Regions from separate parts of the Homo sapiens genome. Here region 2 is linked to region 1. The links are contacts of gene promoters, found by promoter capture Hi-C in blood cells and fetal thymus (Javierre and others, 2016). All regions are on one chromosome and are shown on one strand. The core of a region is centred on a gene start or on the middle of the fragment in contact, and the rest is flanking DNA. Distances in the headings are between cores, read along the strand shown. Region 1 holds the start of BCAP29 (B cell receptor associated protein 29). Region 2 overlaps SLC26A4 (solute carrier family 26 member 4).

What was found. The method cuts DNA at HindIII sites, captures the fragments that hold promoters and counts their contacts. A CHiCAGO score of 5 or more calls a contact.
Region 2: a contact is called between a fragment that was not itself captured here and the fragment with the promoter of BCAP29 in region 1, in 1 of 17 cell types (naive B cells). The highest score is 5.6, in naive B cells.

The regions. Positions count from the first base shown.
Region 1 is chr7:107,575,673-107,583,300 of GRCh38, forward strand. It overlaps BCAP29 (B cell receptor associated protein 29), which reads left to right and starts at 4,574. Exons shown (of 8, transcript NM_018844.4): 1 at 4,574-4,629; 2 at 5,087-5,192. The coding sequence starts at 5,101. It overlaps DUS4L-BCAP29 (DUS4L-BCAP29 readthrough), which reads left to right. Exons shown (of 13, transcript NR_163941.2): 6 at 694-920; 7 at 5,087-5,192. It overlaps DUS4L (dihydrouridine synthase 4 like), which reads left to right. Exons shown (of 8, transcript NM_181581.3): 7 at 694-920; 8 at 1,641-2,851. The coding sequence ends at 1,888. RefSeq lists a silencer at 4,432-4,921 and an enhancer at 5,012-5,081. The HindIII fragment of the contact is 6,036 bases long and covers 2,455-7,628 here.
Region 2 is chr7:107,700,386-107,704,126 of GRCh38, forward strand. SLC26A4 (solute carrier family 26 member 4) reads left to right here. Exons shown (of 21, transcript NM_000441.2): 16 at 716-811; 17 at 1,442-1,672. Among named protein-coding and RNA genes, the nearest start is that of SLC26A4-AS1, 40 kb to the left of the region's middle. The HindIII fragment of the contact is 2,184 bases long and covers 668-2,851 here.

The DNA of each region.
Region 1 (7,628 bases), core at 3,324-5,823:
TTTTTCCGTGACAGGTTGAAAACATATTTCTTTTTTTGAGACAGAGTCTCACTCTGTTGCCCAGGCTGGAGTGCAGTGGCACAATCTTGGCTCACTGCAACCCCTGCCTCCCAGGTTCAAGCAATTCTCATGCCTCAGCCTCTCAAGTAGTTGGGATTACAGGTGTGTGTCACCACACCTCGCTAATTTTTGTATTTTTTAGTAGAAACGAGGTTTCGCCACGTTGGCCAGGCCAGTCCTGAGCTCCTGGCCTCAAGTGATCCACCTGCCTCAGCCTCTCAATGTGCTGGGATTACAGGAGTGAGCCACGGTGCCCAGCCTGAAAACATATTTCAAGATAAAGTATTATATTCTCCCACTGGGGGATGGGGGCATGCACAGCAAATATTAAGGTTTAAATTCATCTGTGACAGTACTTTCATGGGTCTTTCATTTATCAAAGCCAAAACATAGAAGCACTAGGTCTAAGATAAAACTTGTTTTTTGTCCTTTGTTGTCAATAGTGAAATAGCTAAATTTGAGGTCTTGTGTAGGAACTGCTCCCTGAAGAAAACCTTGCTGATAATGACATAGAGTAATAATATGATATAGCAAAGCTAACTAATTTGGTAGATGAAATACCATTTTAGTCAGTTAATGTTAGCATTAAGATTTGTGTGCTGTGAACAGATAAATGTAATTTTGAAATTGTAGGATCCATGATGACCTTAAAAGAACTGTAGATCTTTGTCAAAAGGCTGAAGCAACAGGAGTTTCATGGATTACAGTCCATGGAAGAACTGCTGAAGAAAGACATCAGCCAGTGCACTATGATTCCATTAAAATAATTAAGGAAAATATGTCTATACCTGTAATTGCTAATGGAGACATCAGAAGCTTAAAGGAAGCAGAAAATGTGTGGCGGATTACTGGGACAGATGGTAAGAAATAAGTACTTGGGTTCTTTTAATTGGGGGGGGAAGAAATGAGAGTGGGGAAGTAATGTTAATTTGATTTTCATTTGTTTTGTTTAACATTAAGCCATATTTTCCCATTGTACTGTTTTAAGCTAAGCGATTTATTAAAATGATGTTAAGTTTTCTACCTAGAAAAACATGGATTATCTTAACTGGGATAAATTAATTCAGTTACTTTTCTGACACCATCATATCTAGTGACCAGTGAAGAATTTTCCAGATAGCCTACTAGTAAAATAAAGCACCTAGAAATAAGAGTAAGTGAACTCGAGAATGATAAGAGCTAAAGGAATCCCAGAACTGCTATGCAGTTTCATTATTCCCTTAAATTATTGGCATGCCAAGCCCTATAATTGCTAGATGGGAGAATATAGATAAACTGAACTTTAAGCAGCCCAATTTATGACAATCCAGATTTACCCTAAAGAAAAACTAAAGACTAATGGTTTAATGTAGAAATCTTTAAAAAATAAAGATTTCTGTACGTACATTTAAACTTTCCTGGTTTACAAAAGGTACCAAAATTAATTCTTTTGTAATCGGATTAAACATATTAATGCAATAAAGACATTACAAAACCTTGTGATAATACTTTTTAAAAATATACTGTTTGCTTCATTGAGCTTGAACTAATAACCAGGGGTTCTTAATGTATGGACAAATATGGTGTGCTTTAATTTGTAGGTGTGATGGTTGCAAGAGGACTCTTAGCAAACCCGGCCATGTTTGCTGGATATGAGGAAACCCCACTGAAATGCATCTGGGACTGGGTTGACATTGCTCTTGAACTCGGGACTCCTTACATGTGTTTCCATCAACATTTAATGTACATGATGGAAAAGATAACTTCAAGGCAGGAAAAAAGGGTATTTAATGCTCTGTCAAGCACATCAGCAATCATAGATTACCTTACAGACCATTATGGCATTTGACTAGACTTCCCAAATAATTTTAATATATACTTTTAGACCCACAGTGAAACCACAGAAGGTCATATTTTGTACCTTAAACCAGTAGCTCTCAAATTTTAGTATAAAAACAATTCCTGGGAGCGTTTTTTAAAAATCAGTTGTAGACACCACCCTCAGAGATTCTGATTAGGTAGATCTGGAGTAGACCCAGAAATACACAGTTTAAAGAAAACTCCCAGTGGTTCAAACATCCTGATCATCCTAGGCAAACATTGACAAATACTGCTCTGAATCCTGTTCTATAGATATTGGGGGGATGGGTAGAGTGGGAATTTTTTCCTAATCATGTTTTTAACATTTTAAAATAAAATTTAATACTAAGAAATTATGGCTTATAGTATCTATAAATTAACAAGAAGTATGCAGGTGCAAAAAAGTGGTGGAACAAATACCAACATCCATCCAAAATGAAAAAGAACAGGAAATTCTGAATAGAATTGCACTCAGAACTTATATTAAAAATTCCATTTGGTTAATGACATTAAATTTGGTACATTTCAAAACTTCTAGGTCCTCCAAAGATTGAAAGCTTAATAATCTCCTACCTAAAAAGATAAAATTAATTGCAATCTACCATATCTTAAGTATAGGAAATTTGGTGTCCAACCTGGAGATGATTATATATTTGAAATATTTCCTAGAGAATAGTAACCAGGTTTTGTTTTTAACTTTAAAACCTAATTACTTTTGTGCCTCTCAGCCGTTGATTGTAACTTTAAAGTCCCATGGTTTTGGAGTGTTATTAATAGATTTTGTTATCGGTGGGCATGCACTGCAAGAATTAAGTATCTCAGACTGAAATAAAACCGTTCATAATTAAAGTATTATTTTGTTTTGCCAACATGAAAACTGTTATAAGGAAACAATTATGTAAAACTGTTTAATTCACGTTTGGGAATATTGAATGAATCCATTTTAACATAAGCACTGTGGTGCCATCTTTTTTCTCAGTACATTCTGTTTTCACTTTTCAGTTAATGCATTTTTTTTTTTAAAGATAACTCGCTGTTTCATTTTCTATGAATACTGTACAAAATAGGGAGGTATGGTCAGAACTCTGAATTGAATTACCCTAGTGTTGTGAGCACAGCATCATCACTAGAGTAATGTGCTCGGTGTTTGGAAGGAACCAGCGTGGATGGGCAAGAAGTTCTAACACTTTTGATTAAAAGTAACTTCCTGGCCGGGCGCGGTGGCTCACGCCTGTGATCCCAGCACTTTGGGAGGCCAAGACGGGCAGATCACGAGGTCAGGAGATCAAGACCATCCTGGATAACACGGTGAAACCCCGTCTCTACTAAAAATACAAAAATTAGCTGGGCGTGGTGGCGGGCGCCTATAGTCCCAGCTACTCAGGAGGCTGAGGCAGGAGAATGGTGTGAACCTGGGAGGTGGAGCTTGCAGTGAGCTGAGATTGCGCCACTGCACTCCTGCCTGGGCAACAGAGCAAGACTCTGTCTCAAAAAAAAAAAAAAAAAAGTAACTTCCTGGCTAGGCGCGGTGGCTCACACCTGTAATCCCAACAGTTTGGGAGGCCAAGGCAGGCAGATCACTTGAGTCCAGGAGTTCGAGACCAGCCTGGCCAACATGGTGAAACCCTGTCTCTGCTAAAAATACAACAATTAGCTAGGCATGGTGGCAGGCGCCTGTAATCCCAGCCACTCTGGAGACTGGGGCCAGAGAATCACTTGAACCTGGGAGGCAGAGGCTACAGTGAGCCGAGATCGCACCACCACAATCCAGCCTGGGCGACATTGGGAGACTCCATCTCAAAAAAAAAAAAAAAATCTTCCTTATGGTTAATTTATGTTCAAAGTCTATTTTTCTATTTTTTCTGTTACATGTGATCCAGAATATTAGTGATAAATTAAGAAAAAGCACCAACTTAAATGTGTTTTTGAATGTTTTATATTCTATAATTATCAATTTTCAACATTTATTTACTATTCCCCAAATAATTGTTACCAGGATAGTACTTTTATTAAATTCCTGATACGTTGTCAATATTGAAAAAACTCAACAACTTAAATGTACACGCACAGTTTGAAAAGCTGGAAAATAGTGAAAGAATATCCCCATACCCACCTTTCGTACCAGTCCCCAAACATCACGGTAAAGTTTACTGTCTCTTCCCAGCCCATGGACGGGAACGGGAACGCCTACGGAATATGTTGTGACATACAGTTGATCCTAGGTTCTCCAGAACAAAATGCTGCACGACCACCTCATCCTGGCCCTTTATTAAATATAGCTTAATTCTGGACACAAACAGTTCCCACCATGAAGAGAGAGTAGGTGACCGGAAAGGAGTGCGTCTTAAGCGCGTTCGCTGAATTTGCACCACCCAATCCAGCCCCGCCGCCCGGCGCCGCTCCTTAGACCTGGACCCCGGCACCCTCCCGCCGGGGCCGCACTTAGCAGTGGAAAGTCTGTCCTCCTGAAGAAGTTGCGCTCCGACCTCCAAGCATCAGGTCAAAAGTCTAACTCATTCTCTGACCTGCCGCCAATTAGAAAACAACTGTTGCCAATAAACGTGGTCGCGCCGCCTGTGACCTCAGCCGGGACGGACCCGCGGGCGGGAGCCTGCGGGGCGTGAGGCGGGGTGGGGCCCTGGCTCCCCTCCCCCGCCCAGCCGCGGCGTCTGACGTCCCGCGCGTCGGCGGCCGCGGAGCAGCGCAGGGAGCCAGGCGGGCTGCCGGCGGGTAAGGGCTTCTGCGACCCGGGGACCCGTGGGGCGTAGGCCGCGGAGGGAGAGCGCCGCTGCCTGGTCTGGAGAACCCCGCGGAGCTGGCCTGGCCCGACCCGGCCCGGCCCGGTCCGCGGCGCGGTGGTCGAGGGCCCGCGGCGCCTTCTGGGAGCGGGAGGGCCGGGAAGCCGGGCGTTGGTGGAGGGAGGCGTTGGGCTTCTGTCGCCGCGAAGCTGGCGGAAAAGGCAGTGGCCAGCGAGCCGCCTCGCCAGTTCCCACGACTCCCAGGGAGGTGGCGACACCCGCTTCCCGGGCCACCCTTTTCCCCTTCCTGACCGGGGTCCGTGCTTGCCTTCCCAGGTGGGGGAAGGTGGAACACTGTCCATCCCCTGGACAAAAACGCTGCGCCTCGGGGCCTTGAACCCGGTTTTGTTTGAAAGGAAGCAAGAGAAAATAAGTGTTTTTCCATTTAGGTGTGAAGAAAAAAATGACACTCCAATGGGCTGCAGTGGCAACCTTTCTTTATGCCGAAATAGGACTCATTTTAATCTTCTGCCTACCTTTTATTCCTCCTCAGAGGTAGGAAACCTTCAAATCGTTAACTAATAAATATTGGATCGCTCTTAATGTAAAATGGAAAAAGTTTTCTGAACATTAAAAAGTTTCGAAAGTCTTTGAAAATAAACTCACCTAACGAATTAGGTAGTATATAATGACAATATTAAAATAACATTTTATATAAAACTCTGTTACGTGTACAAGTGAAATAACTTTTTCTTCCCTTCTAAAAGAAAAGGCGCCTATACTTTTGATTCTGTTGATTACAGATATAATAAAGCAACGATTATACTTTTAACACCTGCCCTGCCTTGTCTCAGGTTTTACCTTTGTTTTATTGCCCTGAATTGGAGCCATGAACTAAATAAATATAAGTGGATAAATCATGTTTACAGTACAGCATGGGTGTAAAAGTGTTTCACTGAGGCACTGGAACAGCAATTTAGAAACCAAAGCCAATAAATTATTCTTAGTTTTCGCCTTTGTAACCGTTAGTTTCATTAATGACAATTTTACTACTTTTGATTTCACATAAAATTAATGAATGTATATTAAAAGTGCTGAATGTGAAAAGTATCACAACCATGTATTAGCATTAGTTCGTTAGTGACGGAACTTCTAAGGTCTTGAAGAACCAAGTACAGTGTTTCAAGCCAAGCAGTGGTTCATTTTACCCTTGCAGTAATCTACTTTTTAGTCGTTTAATTTTAGATCCAGAAATTTGATAGTATGAATGGGGAAATACACATGTAATAAAAATATTGCAAGATATTTGTTCATACTCCTGGCATAAAAGAAAGTATTTCATAAGTGAGATCCTAGAGATAACCCACTAAAGTGTATTAAAATCCCAGGACTGGGAGAAACTTCTTAAAGTTTCACCTTAGCTCAGGGTCCAGATAGTCTTTCACAACTCCTAACTTGCTCCTTACCTGCCTGGATTTCTGCTCTCTTCTGTCCTTCTCTATCAGCTAAGCTAAGCTCAGTAAGTTGTTTCTTACTAAAGAAAAAAAATTGAATCATACTGTAGGGTCTTTGATCTTATTTGATCCATTCCACCCATGTTCTATATATCACGTACTGAGACCCAGGAGGGCAAGTAGCCTACGGTTACCTAGCTGGTAAGTGACAGATTCTAGAAAAAAATCTGGCTCTTAGTCCAGTGTTCTTTCTACTCCATCATGCTGCCTCTCATCCTGTAGGTTTTGTTTCAAACTCAGTAACACCCTGTTTTGCTTTTTGGTAATATTTGCAATGATAGAATCCTATATACTCAAGAGAAAGAAAGATTTTGTATATAAACATCTAATTTATAGATAAGGCTTAAGGGTTTGCAAAGAAGGAAAAATTGTCAGTTGATCTTTACTCCATCAGAGTGATCTGTAACTTATGGATCAATATTTTTCTTCCTGCCAAATAAAAATTTTACCCATCCTGATCAAGTAGCTATTAGATAGATGTGTGTATATTTGCATATGATATATAAATGTGTTCTCATGTACAGATATAAAGAAAATACGGTATGTATGCACGCAGATCATTTACAATATGTCCTATGTGTGTATCCACATCTTTTTATCTTTTATATTTGTATCACCATAATCTTTAAAGAAAATATTTCATCATTTAGTCTCTATTATTTTCTTACATAACCCAGTGGTTAAAGGCACATGCTCAGAAATCAGGTCACCTATAACTGCATGTTACTAACCTTGGGCATGCTCTTGATCCTCTCTGATCTGTTTCCCCATCTGTAAAATGGAGGTAGTACTAGTGTCTACCCCTTACGGTAGTTGTTGTAATTAAATGAGATAAAACATGTAAAAGTACTTAGAACCATAATATAGTGAGAACACAATAGGTATTAGCTATGATAAGGTGCTCAACTGCTAGTTGTTCCCTATGAGAGATCTCTTACATTCCCTTTTACACCACACCAAACCTTGAAGAAATAAGTAAATTTACATTTGGACCTAGATCAAGGTATTACCACTTATGTTCTCTTAAAAATATAAAATTTTATATTGCATAATTTAAATATTGGCTGTATAAAATGCTTGGACTTGGAAGCAGAGACAAAATGAACCGATTCATCTGTATGAATCTCCCTCAACCCACCAATTTCAAGTAGTTACTTGAAGTTGTCCTAATCTTAAATCTTAAATGTGTCCTAATCTTAAAGTGAAACTGTTTTTTTCAAGTTGTAAGTGCTTGAAGCTATTTAAGTGCTTACTACATTTTTCTGCCTCCTTTCAACTAAAGTGTTACTCATTTAAATTGCCCTTGTACAAAGTTTGTTACCTTTCCTATTGCGTGATGGATTATTTTGCCACTTTGCCATTTATAACCCATGCTTTCTTACCACTGTCTTTGTTTATACTGTTCAATCCACCTAGACTATTTCCCCATCTCATTTCCTCTATGTTCACATCTTTATCTGTAGTAATTACATGGTTT
Region 2 (3,741 bases), core at 510-3,009, 120 kb after region 1:
TAATAACTATGCCAGACAAAAACATTAGAGATGTTTCTAGGCAGAATTTGAGTAAGTTTCAAATAAGTAGTATAGACAGTTGAGAGTTCATAGAAGGAAGAGATCCAGGTTAGTTGGACTAACAGGCTTTGTGCGGCAGTTGGCTGAAGGAAAGAAATCATGTCAAGTGTTTGAGAACTATGTGAGCTGAGAGACAGTGGAAACATGTATTGGAGGTAGGGTTGCCCAGTTGCAGCAAAAAGTAAAATATACTAGTGGAATAAATAAGTAGAAAATCCTGGCACCAAATGCCATGCTATGCTTTGAACTTGGAGTTTGCCTCTAAATCAGTGTTTTTCTAAGTGAGTTCCAGGGCAAACTGATTCAGAGGAATGTTCACAGATTTTGCAATAACAAAAGGGCTCTGTGATACCAAGGGAATTTGGAAAACCCAGACTTAAACTAAAGAGGGTATTTTGGGGTGTGTGTGTGTTTCTGTTTTGTCTTTTACTGTCTTGGAGCCTTTGATATGCTACTGTCTTCTCAGAGCTTCTGGGTAGGAGTAGGGTAGCCTGGGAGTAGACAGAGATCTACTCCATCAGACCTTACAATTTCTTTTTTGGCAGGATAGCTCAAGGAATTATACCCTTTGAGAAATAGCCTTTCCAGATAACAGTTGCCATTAATAAGCTTTAGGTGCCAGGCATTTTAAGTAACTTGACATTTATTTCCAAAGGTTGGATTTGATGCCATTAGAGTATATAATAAGAGGCTGAAAGCGCTGAGGAAAATACAGAAACTAATAAAAAGTGGACAATTAAGAGCAACAAAGGTGAGATGACATCTTTCTTTTCCCCCTTAAATTATTTCCTTTCCCTGATGAGAGCAGTTAGAGGGTCTAAAATTAAATCTATCCTCTTTAGTATCCAGATGTGAATGAACAAATGACATGTACGTATCAAAGAACAACTGAGCTATTCTTATAGGCAAGCGGGAGTGGAAGGGAATGAAATAAAATCAGCAGCGCTGCCTGGAAACACAGGATGTGATTTTTTTCCCCACCATGAACAGTGTCTGCATTATTTTCTATACTTTATTTTTACTGAAAGGAACAAAATAAGTGCAAATTCAATGCCAGAAAACTACCCACCATAGAAGGCAGTCTAAGTCCATAAACTTTTGGAGCTGTTAACTTTTACTCAGATTCTTCTGGCCAGTGTATTTCTTGGCAAAGTTCCACAATCATCCAGAAAACAAAAGTTTCCTGGCTCCTCTGTTCTCCCAGTTTTCTTCCTAGACAACATCAAAGTTTGGGCTGAGGTGAAACCCATCCTTAAAAATTCATCTCCTTGATGTCTTGCTTACCAAGGAACAGTGTGTAGGTCTTTTGGATAATTTGATATGAATGGTTGAAAGATTTCAAATCTTTGACAATTAAGTTGACAGTGTTTTCTTCGTTTAGAATGGCATCATAAGTGATGCTGTTTCAACAAATAATGCTTTTGAGCCTGATGAGGATATTGAAGATCTGGAGGAACTTGATATCCCAACCAAGGAAATAGAGATTCAAGTGGATTGGAACTCTGAGCTTCCAGTCAAAGTGAACGTTCCCAAAGTGCCAATCCATAGCCTTGTGCTTGACTGTGGAGCTATATCTTTCCTGGACGTTGTTGGAGTGAGATCACTGCGGGTGGTAAGGTTCTGGTTTTCTGAATTATACATTTGGAGCTTTGGCAATAGTAAAATGATGTGGGTTGTCCAGTATTGCAACAGGGCAAATACATGGGCTTTGTAATTTTTCTAGGTGAATGCTTTTGTAAAAAAGTGTAATATTTTAAAGCATAGGCTCTGGAGCCAGACTACCTGGGGGAGATACTGGCTTCACCACTTACTAGCAGTACGACCCTGGGCAAGTTGCTTAATCTGTCTATATCTCAGTTTCTTCATCTGTAATATGGAGGTAATGATGGTATCTACCTTCACAGGTTGTTACAAGGATTAAATAAGCTAATAGATATAAGGTGTTTAGAAGAGTGTCTGGTTCAGGCTGGGCATGGTGGCTCACGCCTGTAATCCCAGCACTTCGGGAGGCTGAGGCAGGTGGATCATGAGGTCAGGAGTTCAAGACCAGCCTGGCCAATATGGTGAAACCCCGTCTCTACCAAAAATACAAAAATTAGCTGGGCATGGTGGCGCACACCTGTAGTCCCAGCTCCTAGGAGGCTGTGGCAGGAGAATCGCTTGAACCCGGGAGGTGGAGGTTGCAGCTGAGATTGTGCCACTGTACTCCAGCCTGGGTGACAGAGTGAGACTTCATCTCAAAAAAAAAAAAAAAAAAGAATATCTGGTTCAAAGATACTCCCCAGCAAATTAATTCACATTTATTATGTTTTATCTTTCTGAGAATGTATAACAAGTGGTATATGAAAAGAAAAAAATGGGCAAAAGTTTATTAAGTATTACATTTCTATTTGTTATGTTAACAGCAACAGGATAAGGAATACCAGGTGTATGTTAGGACTGGAAAAGCCAGGCATTATTAAGAGGTTAGAGTAGGAAGCAGGTCAGACATCTGGAAGGTCAAAGCAAGAGTTGAGGAGTATGCAGGATAGAAACATTAATGATATCAGAAACCAGTTATGCAAGCTGAAGTTCATTAATTCTGTCAACAAATAGATGTGAAATGCCTAATGTGTACTGAGCACTCTGCCAGGCACAAGAGACTAGTGATGAAGTAGACACAGTTTCTACCTACGTGGGACTTAGCAGTCTGGAGGAGAAGGCAAACATTAAGTCATCTTATAAATAACAATTGTAGTAAGTGCTCCAAAGAAGATGAATAGGACATCACCTGAAGCATCAAGTTCAGTGAAGCTTCAGGTAGGTATCAAAAGGGTCAGGCAGAAAAGTAAGCAGGTCAAGACACCAACAATCAGATGTAATAATATAAAGCTGACTCCTAACTGAGGTTCCACTTAGCTAAGGCTTCTTTGCTACCTCTATAAGGGGAGGAAATGATTCCAGGATGTGGGTACTAGGTAGGTAGGGTAGAGAAGTGATTGTGCTTGGCAAAAGAGTATGAGAATATGCTGACAGGTTCTGTTCTAGTTCTCTTAGCAGATTTTGTTATTAGCTCATTTGAAATCACTCTTGTTCTTTGTTGTACATTTCACTCTAAGCATTGGCTGAGATCCATTGTAGACTATATTGGCCAGAGAGTTCAATGAATTACTTTTGGGGACAGTCTTAACATATTTAATGCCAGAATATTTCCCACACAACGAATATTTACTTTCAAATATTATAATGACAGTTATGATAGCTAAAGAAGACTCCAAACTTTATACTTGAACAGAGGTCTTGATTTGTTTTCCTCCATAATTCTCAAATTCTCTTTTATTATTGACTATGGGTCTTGTGTCTTGACTTTTTAAAATTAAATGTTTATTTTGACATAATTGTAAATTCACATGTAGTTGTAAGGAATAATATTTAGATCCTATATACCCCTTACCCAGTTTCTCCCAATGAGTAACATCTTGTAAAACTGTAGCATAAAATCACAGTAGGACACTGACATTCAAAATAGAGGCCTTGACTTTTAGGTCAATAGTAACATTTTGAACCCGATAAGCATAGCCACACCCATATCTCTTCTCCAATCAGCAGGGCCTATATTAAGAAGCCTCCTGTACTCTCTTCTTTCCACAAATGCTTATTTAGCACCTCCACGCTATCAAGTGCTGTGCTATTGAGCGCTGG